2 separate regions of the Homo sapiens genome follow, and region 2 is linked to region 1. Evidence: promoter capture Hi-C in 16 types of primary human blood cells and fetal thymus (Javierre and others, 2016). All regions are on one chromosome and are shown on one strand. The core of a region is centred on a gene start or on the middle of the fragment in contact, and the rest is flanking DNA. Distances in the headings are between cores, read along the strand shown.

What was found. Contacts are between HindIII fragments. The CHiCAGO score rates a contact against its expected background, and 5 or more counts as called.
Region 2: a fragment that was not itself captured here is called in contact with the fragment with the promoter of COX7C in region 1 in 7 of 17 cell types (non-activated CD4 T cells, total CD4 T cells, total B cells and 4 more); the score reaches 12.7 in non-activated CD4 T cells.

Annotation. Positions count from the first base shown.
Region 1 is chr5:86,615,204-86,620,552 of GRCh38, reverse strand. It overlaps COX7C (cytochrome c oxidase subunit 7C), which reads right to left and starts at 2,612. Exons shown (of 3, transcript NM_001867.3): 1 at 2,423-2,612; 2 at 1,057-1,200. The coding sequence starts at 2,497. The coding sequence ends at 1,084. SNORD138 (small nucleolar RNA, C/D box 138) reads right to left here and starts at 47; the gene lies at 1-47. RefSeq lists enhancers at 1,522-2,187, 2,485-2,574, 2,507-2,801, 2,188-2,853, 2,865-2,944. The HindIII fragment of the contact is 5,230 bases long and covers 813-5,349 here.
Region 2 is chr5:83,079,256-83,084,431 of GRCh38, reverse strand. The region is part of intron 1 of XRCC4 (X-ray repair cross complementing 4); the gene reads right to left. Among named protein-coding and RNA genes, the nearest start is that of XRCC4, 4.3 kb to the right of the region's middle. The HindIII fragment of the contact is 343 bases long and covers 3,420-3,762 here.

The DNA.
Region 1 (5,349 bases), core at 1,363-3,862:
TACAGTATCATGAATTCATTCATACTGATTTGCTTCATCACATGCACCGCAACCTTTCCGCATTAGTAGCTTGGATAAGTTATTCCCCCTCTAAACTATGACACTCTTTCCAATCATCCTAGTGTTCTATAGTATTACTCTGAGAAACTCTGATGACAATTAAGCTAAATATTTTATCCACACACAGCAAATCTGCTAACCTTCCAATATGAACGACTCCTTTGAGCATATATTAACATATCCCCTTGACACAAGGCTTCTCAACCTCAGCACCACTGGTAATTTTGCCCCCAAGTTGGAACGATCAAAAATGTCTCACATTGCCAAATGCCCCATTGTGTTGTAAAATCATCCTCATTTAAGAACCACTGCCTTAATGAGGAAAGTATATTTAAAAGTTTGAGTTTCCCAACATGGCTGAGTTGGTGAGGCACAGATTTACAATTGCATAATTATCTGGGACTTATGTATCAAGGAGCACTAGAAGGGTTTTATCTTCAGGGATTTTTCACAACTTAAACAAGTATTGTAAGCCAATTTAAAAACTAGGAGCACAGTGACCACTTTCTAAAAGAAATGGAAATGTTTATAGTGTTTTAAAAGACACATTCTCAGCTACTGTTCTAGTAACAGTGTTCAAGATAGAGTAACATTAATCAGTTTATCAGTTTTACCTGGTTAAAAGTGTGAGTTCTGCAACAAGAAACTGCCTGGGCAAGAGTCCTGGTCCACCATTATACTAGTTATGAGATGTTGAACAACTTAACATCTCTGTGTCTCAGATGGGGTTACTATCATCCGCCTCACAAGCTTGCTAGAGAACATGAGATATCGATGTAAAGTGTACCTGATAAGCAGTAGTATTCAATAAACACTGGCCATTATTGAAATATTTTTATATAGGTTTACAACTAGTCTCCACCAATGCCACATCTACACATAACCTCAGGAATCAGCCCTACACAACAATGTATTTGTGTGTGTGTTCTGGGTGATGGGGAAGAGGCTACTTAATAAAAAGGCCTGCTTTAACATGATTAGAAATCCACTAACTACCTGTTAAATGGAGGAACTGAAACATCCTTATGTTTTAAGCAGTTGGTGTCTTACTACAAGGAAGGGTGTAGCAAATGCAGATCCAAAGTACAAACACATCTTAGCTAGTAACGACCACTTGTTTTCCACTGAAAATGGCAAATTCTGTTGGAAAAAAAGAGAAAAAGTAATCGAAATTGAATCTCAAATCATCTGCTTAATAATCAAAATACAAGTATACAGGAAATGCTAGTTATATTTTACATCATCAGGTTAACATATGCCATAAATCATAACATCGTTTTAAACATTTATCTTTCAAATCCTATGACCTTCATCACAAAACACTACATGGCAAGAAATAATCTGGCTTTACTAAGCACTAGGCAATGAATGGTCTTGAGGACTCAAACGTCAAATAGTGAGAAGTTTCTTACTTTAGAAAATCGAAAAAACTACTGTCCTAAGTAGTCACCTTAGAAGATACATGGCAATGTTAAGTGCAATACAGCTCTTTTTTTTTCTTTTTTTTTTTTTTTGAGACGGAGTCCCGCTCTGTCCAGGCTGGAGTGCAGTGGCCCGATCTCGGCTCACTGCAACCTCCACCTCCCGGGTTCAAGCGATTCTCCTGCCTCAGCCTCCCGAGTAGCTGGGATTAGAGGCACACACCACCACGTCCGGCTAATTTTTTTGTACTTTTTAGTAGAGACAGGGTTTCGCCATGTTGGCCAGGCTGGTCTGGAACTCCTGACCTCAGGTGATCCGAACGCCTTAGCCTCCCGATTACAGGCGTGCGCCACCGCACCTGGCCCACAGTTTTTTTTGTTTGTTTGTTTTTCATTACCAAGCACCTTCTCTGGCCTTTATGACTAGGCCTCGTGTGACCCTCCGAGATTGTTACTGCTATGTGGTTTAAGTTATTTACACCTGAGGCCAAACCCAGCCTTAACTGAGGTGAAGGGTTAGTACTTCTAACTTAGGCAGCTAGTTTAAAAAGCCTGTTCCATAACCAGAGGCCCTGATTTCCTCATGATTTTCCAATGACCTTCATTTCGGGTCCGATGACCTCCAGCTCGGATTTAACCAACACACCTACAGCCGTGGCCTCCCGGAGCCATCTCAGGGCTTTCTGCGGGGCGGGGGAGGGGGCGTCAGGTGGCTGATGGAGGCAGGGCTTCCGGATCTACCTGCCCATTCCTTTAGCGGCTACGCGCTAGGATGCCCAGCTTCCTCACTGGTCCTTGGGCTAAGTGGAATGCTAGTCTGCGTCTCAGCCTGGTTTCTGGCTATCATCTCCCACGCCACAGCCCGGAGGCGGCCTTGCAGGTGCGCGAGTCACAGCCAAGCGCCCCCTCCCCCAACGAAGCCGTGCCCCTTACACACTAACCTTCCCAGGGCCCTCCTCATAGTGGCTCCTACGGACCACAGAGGTTGTGAACCTCCGGATGCTCTGGCCCAACATACCGCTGCTGGAAGCTCTGCGAAAGGCGCAGAGAATGAGGACAGATGAAATGGCGGCACCTCACCAAGACCTTTTTTTTCACGACCTTGTTCCCCGGTGCGCAAGGACTGAAAAGAAAGATGGGAAATGGGGCGGAGCCTTGAGGAAACGCGACAAAGCGGAAATCGCCCTGGATTGTGGGAATTGTAGTTCAGACCATTGCGGAGCCTTATCAGCCCCCGAAGGATTGTGGGAAATGTAGTTTCGCGCCAGGCTTAGGTCTAGGATTCCTGGGGCCTGTTACCGGAAACGATTTTATTGAATCAAGTGAAGCAGTTTCACCCCGTATACTCTAGTCTGTTGAAAAGGACAATAAACCCATCCCTTTTCTCTTCTTTCTTTCTTTTTTAAAAATAAAGTATATGCTAGGTGTCAATGATTTCGAGGACTTTTGCCAATGCTGAGAGATATGTGCTAATGATCCTAGCTGAAGAAACAAAGCATAAACACAAGTAATCAAACAACGTGCAGCACAAAGGACTTCAGAGAGAAAACTGAAATGCTAAGGGAATGATCACTAAAGATAATGGGAATCGAATAAAAAAGAAGGAAGAACAAAGGGCAGGGAAAACTCAAGTCTGGTATGAGTACAGCATGTGTGAGGAGTAGAAGGGAAAAGTGGCCTCTGACACCTGGAGCTAGCCTGGACTAGGAACTGGTGTCCGCCTGATGAACGTACACAATTTCAGCAAGCATTAGCATCCAACAAGACCACTCTGACAGTGTTCATTAAGAAAAGAATATGATCACTGTGTAATCACATCTGAACACAGATAAAACATTGTCCAAGCCACGAAAATGACCGGACATCACCCTATCTGGTTTAATTTGATGACTTCTGCTTCTTTACCAATTACAATCTTAGCCTTGATCTAGCCTTTCTTCCTCCTAAGATTTGGTAAGGTAGCCAATATTAGGAGAAAAAAATCCCAAATCCAATAAGCATTTTCTAATATTTTACAGAGAACCCTTACTGCAATGAATAATAAACCCCGTTTGTCAATTACATGTGTGCTTCTGGTGGTCTTTGACCAGAAGGTATTGAGAAGAAACCAGTGATAAATGAACCTGGGAAAGTGGTGTTAGGTTAGATTGTGAAAGGCCCTGGTAACCTAAATGTTATGTTATTCATCTGTGGGGGAGTGTATATTGCCTCACGTGTCTCATTTATATAGCATTAGGAAACAATTCCAATAAGACCTAAGGTTTGCTTTGAAAAGGGCATAACATATATGCTCTTTTCGTCTTTTTTTTTTTTTTTTTTTTCAGTTTTTGGAAGAGAACAACCATGCCCCTCCCCCCCAAAAAAACACTTAAAAAAAACACTTAAATTCATATTTTGTTTCAACAAGTAGCTTCTTTTTGAGTAGGGGTTCATGAAATGCATCATAACTGGTGTCCTCTACCACCTAATTTATAGAAGTTATGTGACATTCCATTTTTTTTTAACATTCCGTTCACTGCCTTTACATATTAAAGAATTCTGATTTAACTATAATTGAGAAACTTTTTCACACTTAATATTTCTAGATTACACTTTTCAATCTAGTGTGAGTAATGTTATCTGTGGATTTGGTTCATTGTTGCTTCTAATTCACATTAATTGAGCCTCCATTGGGTATCTGGCTTTGAGTTAACTCTTTAGGGACCTGCAGGGCAGAGATTCCAGAATATGGTTTCAGAACTGTCTGCCTTCTCATGGGCTTTGTGGTAAGTTAAATACAAAAAAAAAAAATATGTTTGGCCGGGCGCGGTGGCTCACGCCTGTAATCCCAGCACTTTGGGAGGCCAAGGCAGGCGGATCACGAGGTCAGGAGATTGAGACCATCCTGGCTAACACGGTGAAACCCCGTCTCTACTAAAAATACAAAAAATTAGCCGGGCGTGGTGTCGGGCGCCTGTAGTCCCAGCTACTTGGGAGGCGGGGGCAGGAGAATGGTGTGAACCCGGGAGGCAGAGCGTGCAGTGAGCCGAGATCACACCACTGCACTCCAGCCTGGGCGACAGAGCGAGACTCCATCTCAAAAAAAAAAAAAAAAAAAGTTTATACCTATGTAAATATGGGGGAGGGTGGTGGTTACACTCAAGTGCCGGGCATGTGAGTGAAGCTATCTTGGACACTTCAGCCCAGCCCCGCCCTCAGCTGAATATTGCTGAGTGACCACAGTCACTGCTGTGTGGAGCAGAGTTGTCTAGTTGACTCCTACCCAAAATGTTGTTCTAGAGATTTGTGTGGTATAATAAAATGGTTGTTTTTTCAAGTCATTAAGTTTGGGGTAGTTTTTTATGGAGCAACAAAGAGAGAACTAGAAGTAACACAGCTGTTCTATTTAAGGAAATTAGCCTTTCTTCTAGATGCCATGAGGAAAACAGTTTCTCATTACCAATCTGTAGATGAGAATTTGGCTGTATCATGTAAAATATTATCTTTGCTTCAAATATATCTTTCTCTGGAGTCATGTTTCTGTGATAGTTCTTCAGCTATAATGAAGATGGATGTGCCAAACATGCCAAAACATTGAAAGTATGGGAGGTAGAGTGGTTCCATTTGAAGGTGGTGTAGCAGCTGGCATATTCTAGAGAATGCTAGACACTCAGAAATGCACTTTGCAGCTTTTTGATGCTACTGATAAGTTAGGAGGTAAATTGAAGTGGGATTCAAAGTGGCTGAGATCACTCATTCTTGGCAGATTACTGACTTTTGTATTAGTGGCTAGATACCACCTATAGAGCACACTCTTGAGAATTATTTCAAAATATTTTCTAAAGAATATTTTTGTCAATAAGCCACACTGAGCACAAAATAAAATTTT
Region 2 (5,176 bases), core at 2,342-4,841, 3.5 Mb after region 1:
CTAATTTCATCAACATTAAAAATTTGCTGTCTGCAATTGAACCCTGATCAATGATTTCAGCCAATGCCTTAGAAAAAGGCACAACTCACTTTCATCAGGGCTGGCAGCTTCCGCAATAACAAGGAGCAAATTGTCCAGGGCTATACAATGCATTAACTCCCTCCTACTTGTATCAAAAGGATACAGTACCTTTCAATTATTTTAAAGACAGCCATCTTTTTCCTAAGAAACAAGGTATAGCAAATAAGCCATTGATTTTACACTCAAAAGACCCAGGTTGGAATCAAAACTATGCTTCATAGCTGAGTGTCCTTGATCATGCCATTAATGCATTAAAACATTCACTGATTACTTCCTATGTACCAGGATTTGATATCCCAAAGATCAGTAAGACACATTCGCAACTCTCTACTGAAATAGAGACACCCAAACAGAATTATAATATAAGTTTGTAAAATGCAGAGGTAGGAAGGGAGCTCCTCTGAAAAGCAGCACTTACCCTGGCCTGACATTTTAGGGAAGGCTTCCTTGAGTTACATCTAATATTATACGAATCTTTAAAGAGAAATGGTCAGGTGAAAACAACTTAGGGGTAGAGGAAGAAAGATAAGGAAGGGCATTCCAAATAGAAGAGTCTGCATGAGTAAAAACTTGGAGGCAAGAAATAGCATGATACATGGAAGTGATAAATAATTCAGTGTTTCAGACTGCAAATCAAAAATTACAGGTTCATGGTCAAATGCGGTGGCTCATGCCTGTAATCCCAGCACCTTCATGCCTGTAATCCCAGCACTTTGGGAGGCTGAGGCGGGTGGATCACGAGGTCAGGAGTTCGAGACCAGTCTGGCCAACATGGTGAAACCCCGTCTGTACTAAAAATACAAAAAATTTGCTGGGCATGGTGGCATGCACCTGTAATCCCAGCTACTCAGGAGGCTGAGAAGAGAGAATTGCTGGAACCCAGGAGGCAGAGGTTGTAGTGAGTAGAGATTGTGCCACTGCACTCCAGCCTGGGAAACGGAGCAAGACTCCATCTCAAAAAAAAAAAAAAAAAAATTACAGATTCAAACACCCAATCAAGTCAGTCATTCATTCAAACAAAACCTACTGAGTACTTCTATGCCTCAGACAAATGCTTTAGAATGTGGCATAAGACAACAAAACAGATAAAAATGCCTGCCTTCATGGATTTTACATTTTAATAGGGGAACACAATTAAAAATACATGTAACAAATATGTAATACATATATAGAATAATGATAAGCGCTGAAGTAAAAAGAGGAGATAAAACAGGGTGGAGGAGATAGGGGTAGGGGCTATGGAAGTTGCAAAGCTTCAATTTAAATAGGGAGGTTGGGATATGCTTTACTGCAAAGGTGACATTTGAACAACATGTAAAAGCTATGAAGGAATAGCTGTATGGATCCAAAAGCATTCTAGAAAGAAGCAGCAGTCAGTGCAAAGGCCCTGTGGTAGAAGTAGGCCTAGTGTACTTAAGAAACAGGGTGGTAAGTATGGCTGGAACAAAGGGAGAGAGAATACAAAGACATGTAGTCAGAGAGGTAATGGGAGACCAGATCATGTAGAGCAGAGGTGTCCAATCTTTTGACTTCCTTAGGCCACACTGGAGGAAGAATTGTCTTGGGCCACACATAAAATACACTAACACTAATGATACCTAAAGGGCTCAAAAAAAAAAAAATCTCATAATGTTTTAAGAAAGTTTACAAATTTGTGGTGGGCCGCATTCAAAGCCATCATAGGCCACAGGCAGCCTGTGAGCTGTAAGTTGGACAAGACTGATGTAGACTATTGTAGGCCAACGTAAGGCTGTTAGCTTCTACTATGAATCAAATGATTCACGAAAGGTTTTTAAGCAAAAAAGTAATGTTTTATTCTTCTGTATATTATTTTGAAATAATTCTGAATTTACAGAAGGGTTACAAAGATAATAGAAAGTTCTCATATACCCCTCACCCAATTTCTTCTAATATTAACATCTTATACTACCACGGTGCATTTATCAAAACCAGGAAACCAACACTGATACATTTCTATCAACTAAACCATAGACTTTATTTGGATTTCACCAGTTTTTCCATTAATAACCTCTTTCTGTTTCAGGATCCAATCTAGCATAACATATTGCATTTAGAATCTTACATGTAAATACACAATTTTTTATTTATATTTTAAAAGTATCACTCTGGCTGACATATGAGAATAGACTGTAGGGAGGCAAGGACTGAAAAAAGCAGAGAGAACAGAACACAATTACTATAATCCAGGCAAGAAATGATAGTGGGTAATAACAAAAATCTGAGCAAGAGATGATCAGTATACTAATAGCAGAAATAGTAGAAAACTGTTGAATTCTAGATATATTTCATAGAAAAAGCCAACAGATTTGTTGGAATACAAGAGAAAGGAAGGAGTCAAGGATGACTCCAAAGATTTAACTGAGCAACTGGCTGTATAAAGTTGCCATCAATTCAGATGAGAAAGAATGGGAAAGGTTTGGGAGGAAAGGAGTTCGGTCTGGGACATCTGAGTTCAAGATATCTTTTAAATATACCAATGAAGATGCAGAGGTAGAAAAAGAGGAATTGGAACATGGAGCATAGAAAACTCTTTAGAGGATTTTTGTTGCAGAGAAGAGCAAACAAATGGGGTTGAAAATGGAGAAAGGTTAAGAGAAACATTTCTTAAGGTAAAAGAAATAAGACATACATTAAATAGAAGTGTCTTTTTTGGTGAAACTTCTTTTTTTAAAAAATGTTAATGTGTATATTTGAGGTTTACAAGTTGACATTATAGGATACACACAGATAGTAAAATGGTTATTTTAGTCAAGGAGATTAACACCTATCATCTATCTTATTTTTTGTGTGTGACAAGGGCAGCTGAAACTCTACTTATTTAACAAAAATCCCTAACAGAATAAAACTGTATTAACTTTGGTCCTCAAGTACATTTCAGTCTGAATTGAAAAGCCATGTGGGAAGGGAATAAAAACAAGGGGGGAGAAAAAAAGGACAAACACTGGAACATGAAAAACCTCTACCTGAGGTTAGGGAGGCTAGCTGAGGATAAGAGGAAAAAAGCAGAACAATTGTCTTTCAATATATGTGAATAACAGTGAATGAAAAAAGGTAGGTAATGTAAAAGGTAATGTAAATCAACCCTATCATTAACACTAGCAACAAAGTAAAAAGAGAAAATGGGGAGAAAGTGGTCTGGTGATACAAATGCAATACCAACTTAATACTAAAACCTTTTATAGCAGTCCTCTCCTTATCCAAGGGTGTATATCCCAAGGCCCCGTGAGGAGGCTGAATCCAACTGCCTTCAATCTGAGCATGCTTCTGTTCACATTTTCTAACCACAAATTTAATTCCTTTTTTATCTTAACTAAGCTTTTATAATGCACTATGGCTATAAGTTTGGCAGTTTGAGGTGTGACAGTAAAACTAGCATAAATTTCTTTTTGCTTATTCACAATTTTACAGATAGATTTGTTCTTACCATAGTTCTTAACAACATCAACATAGGATTTCTTTTCTTCCTTATTAAGTGGAGAACTTTCCTTTTTTTGCTTAAAAGAGGCACTTTACAGCTACTCTTTGGCATAACCAAATTGCCAGCGTCGTTACTCTTGTGCTTTGAAGCAATAATTAAGTAAAATAAGTATTCCTAGAACACACGCACTGTGATACCACCTCCATCAATCTGATAACCAAGCAACTAAAAGGCAGGAAGCTTATACAGCAGGGATACGCTAAACAAGGAGATGATTCATGGCCCCGGGCTGAATGGGATAGGATGGAATAAGATTTCATCACAACTCAGAAAGGCATGCTATTTAAAATGTATGCATTATTTCTGGAATTTTTTTTTTTTTTTTTGAGATGGAGTCTCGCTCTGTTGCCCACGCAGGAGTACAGTGGCACAATCTCGGCTCACTGCAGCCTCCACCTCCCGGGTTCAATTGATTCTCCTGCCTCAGCCTCCTGACTAGCTGGGACTACAGGCACATGCCACCACGCCTGGCTAATTTTTGTATATTAGTAGAGATGGGGTTTCACCATGTTGGCCAGGCTGGTCTCAAACTCCTGACCTCAAGTGATCTGCCCGCCTTGGTCTCCCAAAGTGCTGGAATTACAGGCATGAGCCACCGCACCCGGCTGGAATTTTCTACTTAATATTTTCAGACTGTGGTTGATCATGGGTAACTGAAACTGCAGAAATCAAAACCTCAGATAAGGAGGGACTACTGTATTTAGTGCCTAATATATGCAATTCAACCATTCCTCCATTATAATTCCTCCTCTCCAGGGACTTTTAATTTAGCAAAGACAAAGCCATGCACAGTAATAGCCAACACTTTCTGAGTGCTTACTGTATGCCAAACATTTGCCTAGATGATTTACTTGTAATAACTCATGTAATCCTCATAACACTGAGGACACCTGTGCACTGGCGCCACAGAAAACTACAAATATCCACTATTTTTACATACGATTTTAATATACCCATGAAACCAAAGTTGGAAATATTCTTCCAGATGCAGGTGAGATAATACTTTTTGAACAGGCCAGACGTGGTGCGGTGGCCTACACCTGTAATCCCAGCACTTTGGGAGGCCGAGGCGGGAGGATCACTTGAGCCCAGGAGTTTGAGACCAGCCTAGGCAACATAGTGAGCCCTGTCTCTACAAAAAATAAAATAAAATTAGCCAAGTATGGTGGCATGCAACCATGGTCCCGGTTACTGGGGATACTGAGGGAGGAGGATAGATCGCTTCTGCCCTGGAGGTTGAGGCTGCAGTGAGTCATGATTGTGCCACTGCACTCCACCCTGGGCAACAGAGCAAGATCCTGTCTCAAAAATAAAAATAAATAATAATTTTTGAACAAAGGAATAACACAGACAGATTTTATTTCTAGTAAGGAAAGGATCCAAGATGGTTTTAAATGAGGATTCACTGCAAAGCTGCCAGAAAGATTTTAGAAATTGTGATATAATCTGAAAACCAAAAAGTAGGGGGTTTATGTAAGACAATGGAGCTAAACTACCACCTCCCAAAAAAAACTCACCACGTCAGATTAACTTTGATGTTTTACATAAATGCAATAAACATTATACATATTTGTTCAGCCTCATTTATTGGCATAT